Linked DNA regions of Homo sapiens: all the other regions are linked to region 3. The links are contacts of gene promoters, found by promoter capture Hi-C in blood cells and fetal thymus (Javierre and others, 2016). All regions are on one chromosome and are shown on one strand. Each heading gives the region's core, a stretch centred on a gene start or on the middle of the fragment in contact. The rest is flanking DNA. Distances are from core to core; before and after follow the strand shown.

What was found. Contacts are between HindIII fragments. The CHiCAGO score rates a contact against its expected background, and 5 or more counts as called.
Region 1: the fragment with the promoter of KRT23 here is called in contact with a fragment that was not itself captured in region 3 in 6 of 17 cell types (endothelial precursors, M0 macrophages, M2 macrophages and 3 more); the score reaches 7.5 in endothelial precursors.
Region 2: the fragment with the promoter of KRT12 here is called in contact with a fragment that was not itself captured in region 3 in 1 of 17 cell types (M0 macrophages); the score reaches 5.5 in M0 macrophages.

The regions. Positions count from the first base shown.
Region 1 is chr17:40,936,389-40,939,891 of GRCh38, forward strand. KRT23 (keratin 23) reads right to left here and starts at 1,258. Exons shown (of 9, transcript NM_015515.5): 1 at 958-1,258; 2 at 1-565. The coding sequence starts at 215. All of the region lies in intron 1 of LOC107985072 (a long non-coding RNA gene), which reads left to right. The HindIII fragment of the contact is 1,536 bases long and covers 812-2,347 here.
Region 2 is chr17:40,865,958-40,869,257 of GRCh38, forward strand. KRT12 (keratin 12) reads right to left here and starts at 1,266. Exons shown (of 8, transcript NM_000223.4): 1 at 663-1,266; 2 at 198-280. The coding sequence starts at 1,229. The region is part of intron 1 of LOC105371777 (a long non-coding RNA gene); the gene reads left to right. The HindIII fragment of the contact is 7,860 bases long and covers 1-3,300 here.
Region 3 is chr17:41,342,433-41,345,798 of GRCh38, forward strand. No RefSeq gene overlaps it. Among named protein-coding and RNA genes, the nearest start is that of KRT33A, 6.7 kb to the right of the region's middle. The HindIII fragment of the contact is 4,681 bases long and covers 1-3,366 here.

The DNA.
Region 1 (3,503 bases), core at 8-2,507, 410 kb before region 3:
CCATTTCCGCCTAGTAGGGGGCTGCTTCTTCCAGAACCCCAAGACCCTCCAGGGGGTGGGCAGCTCCGCGTGGTGAAGGACAGGGAGATGCGGGCTCCCCCCGCACCGCCATGGACGGTGGGAGCCCTGGGGAAGCTCCTGGGCCGGCCCCAGCCACCTCCGGCGCCATGGAAGGAGGCCGAGGGGGTCTGGCTGAAGCTGTGTCCGGAGTTCATGGTCCCATCTGTGTTTGGGACGGGGCTGAGCTCTGCTCCACTCCCTGGCACCGCAGAACTGAGCCGCCCCAGACTGCCCTGGATGGTTTTATGGCCTTTGCTGTGGGAGTTCCCTTCTCTGACAATTGTACCAACAAGATTGTATCATTGTGCAACTTGTGTTTCCTCTTGGTCAATCCCAAAGTGCCCCTGGGCCTTCGCACACTGTTGTTGTTTAGAGCCACATCAATATGACAGTTTGCTTCCTCCCTTCCCCTGGTAACCCGGAGGTGTGGCCCACGACATCAGGCGGGTATTGGGCTCAGGTATCTTTCTAATCTTGCCGTGAAGTTTTTCCATTGTTCATTTACCTGGAATGGGTTAGGTTAAAGTCCACCCAAAAGAAAGCATATTCGATGTAGTATAGATTTCCTTAAAAAAAACCAAAAACCAAAACCAAAACAAAACAACAACAACAGCAACAAAAAACCAGACATTAAACAACAGAGATACACACACCTTTTTCCACCCCCAATAAGCCCCACCTCTAAAGGGAGGGTGAGCGAGCCTGGAGAAGGGAAAGCCAGCTCAGAACAGGATCTCAGGTCCCAGAATAAAGCTTGCTGTGCTGAGGCAGCCGAGAAGGTGGTGAATATCTGATGCCTTTGTGGCAGTCACTGTTTGAAGGAAAGTACTTTCAAAGGACTCGCTCTTAAGAACAAACCCTCAATTATAGATGTAATTAATTAATGAATGACCGAACCTTCCACTTCCAGGGTGCCTTTCATCCCAGCACACCTCAAAACCAAACAACCCTGGCCTGCGCTCAGGATTTCCCTTGGCCCTGGGGGAGGAATGTAGCCGTTGTTAGCAGCCCCGGACCCCGGCTGAGCCTGCCACGGCTGGGCTCTGTGTGTCTGTGACCTGCAGAGGGACGATGGAAAACAGGAAACCTGCCATGGGCTGTCAAATGTGGTTGATGAATCTTATATTTCATCTGCCAAGGTAAAGGTTAGGAATGAATAAAGAAGCAGTCTGGGGGCGGGAGCCACGTGCTAGTTACTGGCAGTTGGATTTAAAGGGGACTTACAAATAAAATATCAGCGCAGGAAGGGCTTCTGGCCTTTCTGGTTCCAAGCCACTAATTGGACAGATGAGGAAAGCTGAGGCCTATGGTGGTGGGGAGGTTAGTGGCAGAGCCAGGGCTAGATTCTTTCTCCACATAGCACTGTTATCTTGGGTTGAATCTTGACAGGTCCTGTACCACACTTCTCTTTCATAATAATAGGACTTGCCAATTGGTGTAGCTCTTTTATATTCTTTATTGAATCCTCACAACTCTTTATGTATCCAGGCAAGGGTTGTTGTCTTCATTTTGCAGACAAAGAATCAGGGTCTCATAGGGATGAATGATCCAGAGCTGATTCGCATGTACAGTGTAATTGAGCACATGAATTCATAGGTGACACTGCCCGAGTCTGTGCTGTCCTCCCTGCCTGGAAAGTCACTCACCCCTACCTCTTCTATAGTTCAAGGGCTACCTCCTTCAACAATCATTTTCTGAATTCTCCTGCATGAGTTGGGTGACCCTCTAGGAGGAAACTGCCTCTTCTGGATGCCGAGGTCCTCCAGAGGGGCAGACACCTTGGCATCCCACCTCATGGTGGAAGCTGGGAGCCCCTAGCCAGGCGCAGCCACCTCCTGTGCCTGGGATGAAGTCCACTCCGTTCTTTCACTCCATTATACTGCATTTGCCACACCCTTCTGAGACCGCAGGCTTCTTGAAAGCAGAGTTTATGTCTTCCATTTTTGAGCACCAAAGTCTGGTTTCTTGGTGGTATTTTGCAAATGTATGTTGACTCAATCATAAACTTTTTAGAGTCAGGATTTTAACACAGGTCTCCTGATGCCATCAACTTCTGCTCCTTTTAGGACTGTGAGTTATAGAACTAGAAAGTAGGAAAACGCCTCTCCTGGGTATAGATTAACCATCCATGAAGGCCAATCTTTTCCAATTACAAATAAAGCCACCCAAAAGCACACCAGCTCTGCTCCTCCCAGTCTTACAACAAAACCTTATCAGGGAAGAGTCTCTGAATATTTTTTATTTCACTGTGCACGAGCTGGAAAAATGAGCCTCCAAGCCTCAGGGAAGCTTGGAGAGTGCTTAGAAAGAGTGCCGACAGTCACTTACATCTCAGATATGAGAAAAAGACAAAAGAGACAAGTGATAAAAATAGAGCAAATGAGGGAACTAGAGAGACTTGTTTGGCGAGTGGTGGCAACCAGTGTTCTGTGGATGTGGACGGTTCCTGGTCATCAAAGTTATGGTCAGCTCTGGTTCCTGTTCGCCTGGACCCAGACTTACCAAGGAAGAAAACATTTACCTTTAGCATGTGCAAGGGCCGGGCTGCACTGCCTTTTTCTAAATTCTCTCACCAGAATCTACAATGAAATTAATGCTTCTCTAATTATTTCAGGCATGTCTGAGTGGCAGTGACTTATCAACCCCATAGATTTGGCCACTGTCTCATTTTATGTCCATGTGTGGGAGTTTTGATTTATAGGACTTATCCTTGAGCAAAAGATTTCTTGTGTCATAGCAGGACCAGGGCCAGGAAAAACTGGTGGTGAGATCTGAGAGCACTGGGGAGAAATAGTCTCTTCTAGTACTGTTATATGATGGTTTCCCATAACTTCTTTTTTTTTTTTTCTCAAGATGGAGTTTTGCTCTGTCACCCAGGCTGGAGTGCAATGGCGCAATCTTGACTCACTGCAACCTCCGCCTCCTGGGTTCAAGCGATTCTCCTGCCTCAGCCTCCCGAGTAGCTAGGATTACAGGTGCGCACCACCATGCCCAGCTAATTTTTTGTATTTTTAGTAGAGACGGGGTTTCACCATGTTGGCCAGGCTGGTCTTGAACTCCTGACCTCATGATCTGCCTGCCTTGGCCTCCCAAAGTGCTGGGATTACAGGCATGAGCCACCCTGCCCAGCCAATTTTCCATAACTTCTTTTTTTTTTTTTTGAGACAGAGTCTCGCCCTGTCGCCCAGGCTGGAGTGCAGTGATGTGATCGTGGCTCACTGCAACCTCCACCTCCCGGGTTCAAGCGATTCTTCTGCCTCAGCCTCCCGAGTAGCCGGGACCACAGGTGCGTGCCACCACGCCCGGCTAATCTTTGTAGTTTTTAGTAGAGACGGGGTTTTACCATGTTGGCCAGGCAGATCTTGAACTTCTGACTTTGTGATCCACCCACCTCGGCCTCCCAAAGTGCTGGGATTATAGGCATGAGCCACCGCACCCGGCCC
Region 2 (3,300 bases), core at 16-2,515, 480 kb before region 3:
GTAACTTATAATTTAAGGACATTTAATCTGAATTGCATTAGATTCTAATTACTTTCTAGAACACCCTATGTGAATTTACCAAAACAGTAAATATATGGAGTATGTGAACTTCAGAAGATTTTATATCAATGAAGGCAGGACAGTAGGACAGAAGACATGGTGGGACACGCCCATGATCTTCAGTTTATTCGACTCACTTCATCCTGAAGTCCTCAGCAGCTAGTCTCGCATTGTCAATCTGCAAGAGGAGCTGGGCATTTCCAATGCTGGCTGAAATGATCTGGCAAAAGAGAGGGACACACACAAGATTGAAGCCCTAAAAGACTAGTATTATACAAATATATTTTTGACACAAAGGTGAAAATGGTGATATTAAATGCTGTTTTATTTAGAGTTTAAGACAGTTTCATTTTTCTAAGACAATATCTGTATAAAATAATATTGAGAAGTAAAGAAATGCAGATTTCCTACAGAAAGATAATGGAAATACAATCATTTCTTAGTAAATGATAAAGTGGAGTGAAACAACCTGGGATGAGAAAATTGCTGCAAGTACAGCTAAATTGGAAAATATCAAAGTTGTAGGTGATTATCACTGTAAAACATTGTAATGGTAAAAAGGAAAAAAAAAATTCCCAAAGCGCCTCCAAAAGAGATCTTACCTTATTCCTGAGGTCTTCAATCAGTGGATAATATTTGCTGTAATCGCTCTGTGAAGCATCTGCAGTCCCAGTTCCTCGTGTTTCATACCATTCTCGAATTTTATTTTCTAGCTCAGTATTAGCCTCTTCTAGAGCTCGCACCTTATCCAGGTAGGAAGCTAATCTATCATTAAGATTTTGCATAGTTTCTTTTTCTGATCCAGAAAGAAGGCCTCCATCATTGCCCGAGAGAATACCTAGAGAGCCACCTCCTGGGCTGCCCCCAAATCCCATCCCCAGCCCTCCAAAGCTACCTCCACCCAGGGCTCTCCCATAACCAGCACCCAGTCCTCCTGCCATGGAACTTCCGGAGCCACCCCCAAAGCCGGAACTAGAACCAAACATGGAAGCAGCAGAAAAGCCTCCCCCACAGCTGGCTCCAAAGCCAAAGGCACTTCCCCCATAACCACTTCCAACACTGGAAGCAGACATGCCCCTGGGTCTGCCTATCACACTCTGCGAGGAGAGCCGCCGGGACAGTCCGGGGGTGCGCACTGAGAGTGACATGGTGTTGTTGGAGAGATCCATGGCCTGGGGAAGGTGGCCACAACTGGAGAGGAAGTTGTGCCAGCAAGCCAGAAAGCTAAACTTATATAGGCTGCAAGATGGGTGTCGCAGTTGAAAAGTTCACTTTCTCCACTCAAAATTGGATCCTCCCCCCAGGTTTTTGGCCAGCTCAACAAGTGAATGATTTATGTATAATGAAAATTCATTGATACAGAAATAATCGAATAATCATTTCCATTAAATATTTGTTATATGAAAAAGAAAGCTGGGTGGAGTAGAGTCTGCTTGTCATAAGGAATTTTTCTTCTCCAAATTAGTCTGTTGCCTGTATTCCCAGCACTGCCTAGCGTCTTGTTCACAGTAGGAAGATAATGAGCGATTGCTGAATGGATACGTTAAATACTTCTTCCTAAACCTTATGCTTTTTTAAGTTCTTCCCTGATCTTTTCTGTTTGTTTCCTTTGGAAAATCCAGTGTAAACCATTTGTTTCCTTTGGAAAAACCAATCCAATGTAAAATCCAGTCATGATCAAGTATACCTTTTAGTGGAATACAGCTTCAGAAGCAGCTGTGAAATGCACTGGTGAAAGGTGGAGAATAAATATATTTTCCAGATGGATACTAGAATTTGCATTTTCAAGGATTTTAAAACCTTGGCTTTAGGATGTTGCATGTTTCTTTTCCCTCTTATTCTTCAACTTGGAAAAGTACTATTTTTGAGTACAGTTGTTTATAGTAGAGTTTATTATAGTTGTTTTAGCAGTTTTACCTTGTCTGATTGCTCACTGCTCTACACTCAGCATTTACTATGTTTATTCCTTCAACAGATATTGCCTGTAATGGTTGCTCAATAAATGTGTTGACTAGTTGAATGGATTGTGTAAACACTTCAGATTTTGTTGCCATTATCAATAAGGAGAAAGTGGAAACACAGTTCAAATTAAGAAATGATTAAAACCCCAAGTTTAAGAGGCTAGTGAACCATTTCAGTTGACTGCTATGATGAAAAAGGATAAATTTTACAATATAGAATAAATTAAATGTTATATTTTAAACTTTGTTGTGAAAACTTTGCAAAGCGTGCTTCAAGGAATTATATCCAGTATCTTTAATTTTTAAGACATAAAGTTCTTATACTTTCTTGTTTGGTATATTATTTATCTTTGAAATTGATATGGCTTATATATTGAACATGAGAACTAACGTTCTTACAGGAAATGCATTAACTTGAAAGAAGCCTGCTTTCAGAGAGAGTTGTAGATACCTGGAAACCGAGTAGTACAATTCCAGGGTGGTGGAATTCCCTTAGGAATTTAAATTGTGAGCATTTTGATTGGATAAGAAGGAATAAGGATTTTTCTTTTACATGTTTTCTTTGAGATGATGGCCCAATTCTCTACATGTCTCATTGCAAAATAGTTCTATAGTTTTTTTTTAAATATAGCTCTCTATGTATTTATAGTAGGAAATTTAGAAGATGCAGAAAACATAAAGAAGATGTATGTATATATGAGTATTTTATATACATTTTTGAACATAATTGATTCAATATAAGATTTTATAATCTGCTTTTCTCTTAAGATTATATACTTATCTATCACTTGAACTTTAATAATTGGGTACAGAACATGGATTGTGGATTCTTCGAAATCCTTTGTTGGATTCAGATTTCTAAATTCAGTTTGCTCTGTATTTGATGATAGGAAATAAAATTTCTGGGTGTAAATAACAGTTTTTTTGCAAAGATGTTTATACTGAATTTTATTAATAAGGTATACACTGACTGTGTGTGCTATAGACATATATGTATTTTGACTAGAATGGATTTATTGAAATAAAATACATTAAAATCATTGTAATGATACATTTCCTACCTCGTGGGAAACAGGGCCTTCATTTCTCCATCAGGGACCTCTGTTTGCTTATAGATGGCCACTAAAACTCCTTTTCAATTTGGTATATTTGGATTCTGCGTTTTATTTTATTCTAAGGAAAAGTTTTAAAAATATCACAAGTATTCTAGATTTCTAAAATAAAATTGAATTCTTATTTGATTTAATAATACATACCTTTCATAAAAAGGAAGATTTTT
Region 3 (3,366 bases), core at 329-2,828:
TATAGGCTCTCCTCAAGGGTCGCATTCCGTTCTCAGAGCTATGAACATCTGCTTTTCTGGGATAGGAATCTTGGTGATGTGAAACATCCCTGCCTGCCCTTCCGTTCATAGACTCTGCAGGGGGAAGCACATCACACGCTGTTGGCTTATTCTGGTAGTCCAGCCTGGCATTGTCTTTACACAATCCTGCATGCAACTTTGTATTTACAATAATCAGGAGCATTTCATCTTTTATTCCATAGCAATAGTTTCAAGGGCTCCCCCTACACTTTACATTTCAGTCCTGTGCTTGTCCCTACAAGTTTAAAAAAAAAAAGTGAGAGTGAGGGAAAGCTACCTCTGCACACCTGCAGCAGGCTCAGCGAGGAGCCTGGTGGGGCCGGGGCCCACCTGCCTGGCACATAACTTCATCAAGTTGTCAGTGTGCATTTTGCAATAACAAGGGACAGATCATGTCATCCTCATATCCTTTTATAGTTGGAGCCATTCTTGGGACTTTTGGTGCCTGCTGCCAGACTCTCCTGTTTTTGATGAGAAATGTGAGCAGTTGTTGTTAGATGTCAGTGATTCTTCTTTGAAACATAAAAGAAGACATACCTGACTTGTAATTGTCATCCACTACCCTGAAACTTTAAATGTTAGTGTTCAGTAAACCTATTTTCCATTCAGCTGCCAATGCACTCCTTTTAATAAAAGTGTCAATCAAATTCATCCTTTTAACTCTCCCAAGGCTTTCCTCTTCCCTTGAAATGAAATCGGATCCTCCACAGAACTGGCGAGCCCCCATGTACCCTGGCCACTGCCCACACATACAGGCTGATTGTTCCTCCCCTACTCATCACTCCCGATGCCCTGGCCTTGCTCCCTTCTTCAAAGGCAACTGCCTTACTCCCTCCCTTCCTTGACTTTCTGTCCCTCTCTCTGGAAAGCTCTTTCCCTCTGCTCTGTTTCTTCTCTGTTTTCAGGTCTCAATGCAAATGTCACCTCTCAGGCAAGCTCTCCAAACTGAGACAATAGGAGCTCGGTTCACATCTGTCAAAAATAGGAGCAAACAGGCTGTTAGGAGGCTGAGTAGAATGTTTTACTGGGACTAGACAATATCAAACTTAGATCCCAAGAGCCCAGGAATTCGTATTCAAGGTCAAAGTGTCAACAACAAGAATACTGAGTCTTACATAGGTACCATGCTGCACCATTTATAAAGCACTTCCATACACAGGGGATCTTCACAACCCCACAATGCTGCCAGGCCAGGTCTCTCAAAAGGAGGACTCTGATGGTCAGGGGAGTCAACAATATATCCAAAACCAGGACCAAAAAATGTTGCCTCCAAAACAAGCCATAATTCTTCTTCTCATCACAGCATCCCACACCATCTCCTAGTGGGTAAGACTCATAGCCCAGCGCCATCATGGTTTATTTCACAGGGAAGGGTGGGGCAGGGATTAGGAGACATTTCCCAGGGTCTTGTTTCCTTGCTTCCTTGCTATGGGCCTCTCCCCTCAGAGCACTGTTTTCTGAGAAGGCCTGGCTCGAGGAGCTGATGACCTCAGCGACTGCAGACCTGGGAACCTGCAGAAAGGAGAAATTAAGTTTGCACCTGGGAAAGCCCAGGGTTGAATAACAGAACCTCGCCTTTAAGAATTCTTGCTTTTTTTTTCCTGCCTCTGCATTGTTGCTGAAATATACAAGAGAGAAAGAAAGGATTCTGAACCCATTATTTATCTCCTCCTTCCAAGCAAGCAGCAGACATTCATGATTAATGATGAGGTGACTTTCTACATTGATTTAATTGAAATCTGTATCCTATCCAGGTTATTTTTAAAGTTTATAAAGACCTTTTCTACTGATTCTTCTCTTCCAAACTCAAATAAAGAAATGTTTTATATACATGATCTTCCACTAAAAAGGAGCCCAGACTCTCAGATCCTCAGGAACATCTGTTCTCCATTCTATAGGACTGTGCTGCTGAAGACAAATGGAGTAGCGAGTGACCAATCTTTGAGACTCAGCATTCTCTCTATGTTAGCCCTAACGCAAAAGAGAGGACTGGTCCGCACCTAAGGGAAGAAGGTGGCCACGAGCAACTGTTGAGGGCTGGTCTCCTTAGCTGTCCTCTGGTATCCACAGCCCTGAATGGAAGGTTTTGGGTATTTTTCCCTGGACATCTCTACCACACCTAAATATATGGTCTGCAAGTTTTGGAGAGAATTTCCAACCCCCACTCTACCTCCTGCCCCTCCCTACCTGTTCTCATAGGTTGATGATATTCTAATCTCTATTAAGAGTTCCCATTCTCAATATCTCTTCATTTCAATCATTGATTTAGAAAAGTAGGAGTAGAGAAGTGAAAAATGAGACTCAATCTCATTTGTGGGCTGGGCCTTGGGTTTCCTTACTTGATTGCTGTTTTTGTTTTTTTAAACATTGCCAAATCTGGATGCCACTGAAGGCAGTAATGTGACATAATGATGGTCCCAACTGCATATAAATAAAAACAGGTGGGGCCAAAGCTCAAGGCTCACTAGGACAAAAGAGACTTTTCCGCCAAATAACCCACTCACAGTTCTCCATCATCTGACGCAGACCCCAGGCAACTGAGCAGAGAACTCCAGCATAGAGTTCCAGGCCCACATCATAGAACTACAGAAAGTCACAAGGAGTCCTTGAGTGCCGAGGCAGGAACAAAGAGAGGAAGGTGAACCAAAGGCACCTCCCCACCATCCAGCCTAGCAGATCCCACACTCCTCCTGGCCACTATATCCCTCTACCCTTTGCTGCTCCTTCCTACTTTCTACCTAAACATTTCAGCACAGCATGGTTGTGTGTGTGCATGTGTGTGTGGTGTACATATGCTTATATGGTATGTGGTTATGTATATGTGTATATGAGATTATATACCATATGTTAAGGTGATAGATTTATATTACCTCAGTACAGGTTTTTTTTTTACTCAAAAGGTTTTCGGATCCCTCCACTTAATGTTTCAGAATAAATAGTTCCTGTGTCTCTAAAGACACCTTCATATGAATTTGCCATTCTGTTTCCCACCACCTTCTTCCCAAACACTAAATCCGGGTTAATAGTCTTTCATGGAGGCTTTTCCATTGAAGGAAATCATAGGCCATATATGGGGTGAATAACCTCTTCATCTGATGGAAAAACTCTGGTTATTTTTTTAATTTATACAAGACAGCCAATTTTGGAATTAATGAGTGAAACAGACAATTATAACTTTTGAATAACAGTTTATTAGGAGGTTAACAAAGGATTTCTATTGCATCTCCAAAGACCAAGAGTGACAAGGAAGATTTGCTCCAATTATGTTCTGTTTCATAGCATGCCCATCAGCTCTATCACATTTAA